Linked DNA regions of Homo sapiens: region 2 is linked to region 1. The links are contacts of gene promoters, found by promoter capture Hi-C in blood cells and fetal thymus (Javierre and others, 2016). All regions are on one chromosome and are shown on one strand. Each heading gives the region's core, a stretch centred on a gene start or on the middle of the fragment in contact. The rest is flanking DNA. Distances are from core to core; before and after follow the strand shown.

The links. The method cuts DNA at HindIII sites, captures the fragments that hold promoters and counts their contacts. A CHiCAGO score of 5 or more calls a contact.
Region 2: a fragment that was not itself captured here is called in contact with the fragment with the promoter of ZFY in region 1 in 8 of 17 cell types (total B cells, non-activated CD4 T cells, M0 macrophages and 5 more); the score reaches 12.3 in total B cells.

The regions. Positions count from the first base shown.
Region 1 is chrY:2,933,736-2,937,022 of GRCh38, forward strand. It overlaps ZFY (zinc finger protein Y-linked), which reads left to right and starts at 1,646. Exons shown (of 8, transcript NM_003411.4): 1 at 1,646-2,034. The HindIII fragment of the contact is 5,223 bases long and covers 1-3,287 here.
Region 2 is chrY:3,104,059-3,107,345 of GRCh38, forward strand. No RefSeq gene overlaps it. Among named protein-coding and RNA genes, the nearest start is that of LINC00278, 100 kb to the left of the region's middle. The HindIII fragment of the contact is 162 bases long and covers 1,590-1,751 here.

The DNA.
Region 1 (3,287 bases), core at 396-2,895:
CAATCATAGCCCAAACAAATGGGCTTAAGCCTCCCATAGCTGGGACTACAGGCGTGTTCCACCACACCCAGCACTTTTCAATTTTTTTGTACAGATGGATCGCCCTATTTTCCAGGCTTGTCTCCAACTATCAGTTGAGCACAAGCTGATTTTATCTCAGCCTTCCAAAGTGTTTTGGAATTACAGGGGTGAGCCGCCTCTCATTTATCATTTTTGAAACAAAAGGTAACGACTTGAGAAAACAAGGTCAAACCAATGGTTTGAAAAGAGAATTGCTATCCAGCACTTAACTCATTATATCAACTATGTACCACTGGTTTTCCTTTCGTAAAGCATTTTATGATTTTTAGGTTTCTCAGTTAAGGACAAGATGATTTCTGAGTTTTAAAAATAGGTATGCTAGAAAACTGAAATACCTGGCCTCTACATTTAGAGATTACCGGCTCTGGCCCACAGGCTGCAGTGCAGTGGCTTGATCACAGCTGTCCGCCTGTATCTGCTGGCCTCAAGCGATACTCCAGCCTTGTCCTCCCAAAGCGCTCAGAGGTGAGCGACCGCGATAGGCATGTTTAACTTTTTAGTAGCAACTTTTAAACACAGTTTGGGTACCTAGTTTAATGGGAAATTAGAGTGCATTAAAACGTAAAGTAATGAAAACGCACAATACACGTTTTTGGAGTTCATCAGTACTATCTGTTTAATCAAATGCATTTTCCTCTCAGTCTCTAAAGCCTTTTTAAACTTTAAGAGGATAAATAATTTTGTAAGAAGACAATCCCAAAACCAATTGTTAGTTTACATTTATTAAAGGGTGTGCATAATTCATTGTTCATGAGACAATTACACAAAACTGACATTTCAAGGATGCCAAAAGATGAAACACTGCCATAAAGAACACACACTAGACATTACAAATCTTGGTCAAAATACCTACGTTAACGCAAAAAAAAAAATCAATTGGCTCAGTAATTGATTAGGATAATCCTCCCCTCCTCTTGCCTGTACACTGTGGCAAGTCCATTTACTTTCTTTTTTTTTTTTTTTAAAGCCAACAAAGGAGACAGTGGGGAATGCTATATGTCTGTATCTGCTTTCCTCCTCAACCCTAGGAATAAAGTAAACACGTTTACTGAGGGCGGGGGTCTAAGGGCCTGCAACAATGAGATCTGTCGCCTTGGCTAGGACTGGCGCCGAGAGGCGATAGGTCTCGGGAGAGCCTGGCGCAGGGTGTGGGAGATTAGGAATCCCAGGTCCACCGGAGATGGCAGGGGGTGGCCTGGCCCGGTGCGGGGCCGCTTGCCTGCACGCAACCAACTAAGGCGGTGGTGCGCAAGTAGTGGTGACGGCGGGCGCGCGGAGAAAAGGAACGTTGTGACGGAAACTCCAGCTGCCGGAGACCCCACCGCAGTGAGGTCACTGGACTCCCCGGACTCGGGGCGTGACCGGCGCCGACCCGGGGCGCCGAGAGGCCCACCGGGCGGAGGGGGCCCAACTACCATCCCGCATTTTCCTGGGTCTCTCTCCCGGGCGGTGACGTGACGTGCTGACGGCGGGCCCGTGCCGGGGAGCTGGGCCGCTTTTTGTCAGCTCCGAACTCGGCCCCTCCTCCCTCCCTCCGCCCGCCCTACCAGCCGGAGCCCGGCCCAGTGCTCCAGAGAAAGGCCGTCCTGCAGCACCCGCCGCTGTCGCCGACCGCCCGCACATCCGTCGGGTGAGTCCCGCGTGCCCCCGCGGCCGCGGGGCCTAGTGCGCGCGCAGTAACCTGTTTGTGGCCTGGTCGGCGTCCCGTAGGGCGCCCTCCCGCGCTAGGCCGGCCGGCGTGGCGCTCGGCGCCGAACAGGCCCCGAGGAGGCCGCAGTTAGGCCTAGTGATTATCCAGTTGCCCTGAGCGGCTGCGGAGGTGCGCTCCATAAGCGGGCAGGGTGGGAAAAGTTCGCCCGTTTGTCCGGAAGGCAGTTGATGGACCTGGGGTCGACACCACTGCGGACGCAGGGCACGGCACGGGGGCGAGAAGGCGAAGGCTGCAGGCGTGAGGTGAAGGCCGGAGGCCTGCTGGGCCTATTTTCGCTATGTAAATGTCCGCGAAGGGGAGGAGGGACGGGGGGGCAAGATGGCGGCTGCTAGGCGCCTGCTGCTGGGGAGTATTGAGAGTGTTGTCGGGAGGCGGAGCCGCCATCTTGAAGGCGGTATCTGGAAAAAAAATTCGGTTATGATCCTTGAGGCGGGGATGGGGAAAAGGACGGCGGCGGCGGCGGCAGCGCAGCCTCCGGCGCGACGGCGTGTCTGCGCAACAGGGCGTGCTCGTTCCCTTGGCGGCCCTTGCCTTTGTCGCCATATGCGCGCGTACGTTCCAGACGCCTGCGGCAGCGCCACCTTTCGGCCTTCCCCTCACAGCCCATCCTTGGCTGGGTGCAGTGTCGGCTACGCTTTAGGTGACATGCCGCAGGCGTCCGTTCGGGCGCCGGGGTCATTTCGCCCCTCAGCGCTCCCGGCTCTGTGCCCTTCCGAGAGTCTACAGCCACCCGTTTCAGCAGGTGGCAATTCGGGCATCTAGGCTCACGAGAGCACATAAATTCCAGAAAATTTTATTTTCCCCTAATTAAAGTCATTATGTGGCTGTTCGGGGACCTTCGATGCGCTTATTTTTCAACCATCATTGCCTCTTCGAGGATCTGCAAAATAGAACTGGAATTTATTATGAAAAAGTTATTAGGCACTCGTCCAATAGACAGTACAGTACAAATTATACAGCACGAGGGCAGAGGAATAAAATTTCCCCAAGGCGACTTTTCCCATTTATGTGGAAACACTTTTTTGATGAGCTGTATTTAAACGAGCGAGCTTTTTTTTAGTCCGTGTACTTTTTTTGAGTAAGAGATGGAAAATAGGCAGAAGAGGTATTTTTCTTTTTGAAAGACAATTCATGCATTACTTGTAGGTTCATATACCCATGATGACATTGAGATTTTATTTGAAATTTCTTATACAGTTTCATCTTCAAAATACTTTTGTTAGCATTTTGTACAACTTTGCTGGAAAATTGGAGCACAGTAATGTGAGCGTTGGACAGTGCTAGGTGCTAAGAAAGATTTAAAAGGCTCTTAATGCAGAACGTGACTGCAAAAAGTTTGCTGCGGGCATTTCACAGGAAGGCGAGGTTTCAGTTTGCAAAATTGGGAATCCTGAAGTAGATGGGGTTTAGCTAGGGTGAGGAATGGGAGTAGGAGAGGTCATTACAAGAATGAAATGTCTGTAGAAGATGCAAATATTTACGGTTTTGCTGGAGT
Region 2 (3,287 bases), core at 421-2,920, 170 kb after region 1:
TGTTAAACTGGAGATTGGCAGCTATGACTGAGGACTTGCAAAAGCGGAAACAGGGACTTCTCAGTGAGGTCAATATTTGGAGGAAATATGTATAGAAACTGAAGATCTGTCTGAGTTTACCCCTGAGGTACATTATAGCATACATGAGTTTGAATATTTATTCTTTAATGTACATATTTGGTTATGGAGTTGTTTAAGCATCAGCTGTTTGGAAATTCTGCTTTGCCAAGATATTTCTAACTTGCTTTTTAGAACAGTTGTAACATTTTACATTTCCATAGCTCCCTTGGCTTCACATGATTGAGTAATACTTTAAATCAGATTGTAAATGTATTACGCAGTGGTTTTAATTTCCTGATTAGTAATGAGATTGTAACTGAACTCAGGTTCAGTTGTTTGCCAATTGAAAGCCAAAACTTGAGAGGCAAGCGTTGGTGGAAGAGAAAAGCAGGTTTATTCAGGACCTGACAATCCAAGGAGATGGTGGACTTGCATAGCAAAGACCATCTCAAGTTTCTCAGCCTGGACATAGGGGTTTTAAAGGGGAAAGGGCTTGGGAAACTATGTGCAGGAGTTAGCTATGCATTTCAGAATGTCTTTTTCCAACGACTGTCATGAGGAATGGGCATCAAGAGGTGTAGCTGGCATCATCCAACCTCTAATAAGATTGAAGATTAACTGCTCAGTATTTTTTTTCCATTAAGAACATTTCACAGCCTTGGTTTTATCTTGGGGTTAGTTCTTGGAATTCTTAAGCAAGCACACAATTAGGTATCGTAAAAGAAAGAATAGTTATTTGTTTCCAAAATGGAATGACTGCATCAGTTACAAGATGATCACCTTTATATGTTATTGCTATTCAGATTTTCTCTTCCATAAAATACTTGTTTGCATCTTTTGCCTGCAGTTTAATTGGGTGGTTTGACATTTTGGTTTATATGAATTTCTTAATATGTTATGGACATTAATCCTACACTGGTTTTTTATGTTGCAAAGATCTGCTCTCAGCGTGAAAATTCTTTTTATGGCGTCTTTTGATGATGAAAAGTCCACAATTCAAAATAGATTAACTTATCAATACTTACTAGTTTCTTTTACTTAAGTATGTTATTTCTCTTAAAAATTATCTATATATCAGAAAAATACCTCCATTTATATTCCTGAAAAAATTATTTAAATTTGCCTTTCATATTTAAGTCTCTGATATACTGGAAATTAACTTTTGCATATGTCATGACGGATACACTATTTTGCTTGCTTTATAGTTTCCGGATAAATACTTATCTCAGGGCCACTGACTGACTAGTCTATACTTTTACCTCTATACAATATCTGGTGTTCATATTTTTGCAGGTCTATTTCTTGACTCTCTAACGTGTTTTTAGCTTTCAATCCTTGCACTCACACCATGCAGTGTTAATTGCAATTGTTTGATAGTAAATTTTAATCACTGCTATAGCAAATTTTCGTATCTTATTTCTTCTGGGTTATACTTGGCTCTTTGGCCTTTGGTTCCTTGACTGTACTTCCATTTAAAATTTCAGGATTGACTTCAGTTAAAAATAATCTGTAAGAATTGTTCAAATTTAAGCTTGAATTACCAGAAATATTTCACTTTTTGCATTAAATGCATCTCATGATTATTGATATGTAATATTATTTTATTTTCTTCAATTCTAAAGATCACTTATTCCCCACTGGGATTTTTTATTTAGCATTAATTTATGTAGAAAAGTGTTTTTAAAATTCCAAGCTTATGATATTGTGAGTTATCTTTGTATTATTTAAAAATTAATAACATTGCAGTTAGATATTATTATGTGTATGAAATTAATATTGGAAAACCACTGAGAATTGCTCTATTTCCTATTATATTGTTGATTTTCATGAATGTTTCCTGTTTCTTGAAACTGTATATTCGTCAGTTCTTTGGTATAGTGTTCTATATATACTCATTTGATCATTCTTACTATATGTTACCCAAATATTCTTAATCACAATTTTTACCTGTTTCACCCATCAATTACTGAAAGATATGTTTTTAAATCCTCACTGATGTAGTAACTTTCAGCATATTTTGCACATATACAGATGCTCCTTGATTTATGATAGATTTATGCCCTGATAAACTCATAATAACTCAAAAATTTTGGAAATCACAATGCATTTAATACCCCAGTAAACACATTGTTAGTAAAAAAAAATATTAAGTTGAACTATCATAAGTTCAGCTGTTCCTTGACTTACAATGAGGTCACACCCCAATAAACCCATCACAAATGCAAAAAATCATAAGTTGAACCATAGTTAAGTAGAGGTCATCTGTATATATTTATAACTATATATCAATATAAACATAGATATAAGTATGTGTGTACATGCATGAATGTATATCATACAGATCTGTCAGGTTAGAACTATTATATTAATATCTTCCTGACAAATTGAACCCCATCATCTCTTGTTCACTGGGCCTTGAAATTTATTTTATCTGATTTTAATATAACCAAAGTAGCTCTTTTTTAATTAGTATTTGCCTGCCATATTATTTTGTATTATTTTACTGTAACAATTCCTGTTTTCTTGTGGTTTTGGTAAAACCTCTGAACACTGCATATAGATTTAAAATAATTCTGTAGATCTACTGGCATCATTTTTGTAGATATATGTTAACTTGTTTCTAATTCCAATTTTTTCAATTTTCCTCTTTTTAAAATTTCAGCTTTCATTGAGGAGTATAACACATGTATAGGAAATTGCACAAAATTTATATATATTCTTTTAGGGATAACTTTAAAAGATAAATCTGTGAAACCAGAATCTAGGACAATATATTTTTTTTTTTACGTGAAACCCAGTGAACCACAGTTATTTTATTAGTTGGGTATTTTTTTATGGCCCAGGGTTGCACAAAATTACAAAACAATTTATTTGCTACCCCACCAAATATAAAATAATGGGGCTGGAACAAAATCATGACAATAAAAATTTCCCATTCAGAATAAAGGAGAATGAAAGATTCATAGCAATTATGCAATGCTGCTGGATAGGCAATTTGAAGGCCCTTTTCCTTGGCGGTGGGGTAATTTCTTTGTTTAGACTGATTCTTCTTTTAAGAAAAACTATATTTTATGGTACTCACCAGGATTCCAGCTCTACGCTCAGCATAATTCTTTCTCATTTATTATCTTTTGTGGCCTCATCATAGGAAAAATGTACATATATTAAGATTTTAAATAAATGAATAATTCTAGATGTGGAAAGGTTATCATTATAATTAGTTATAA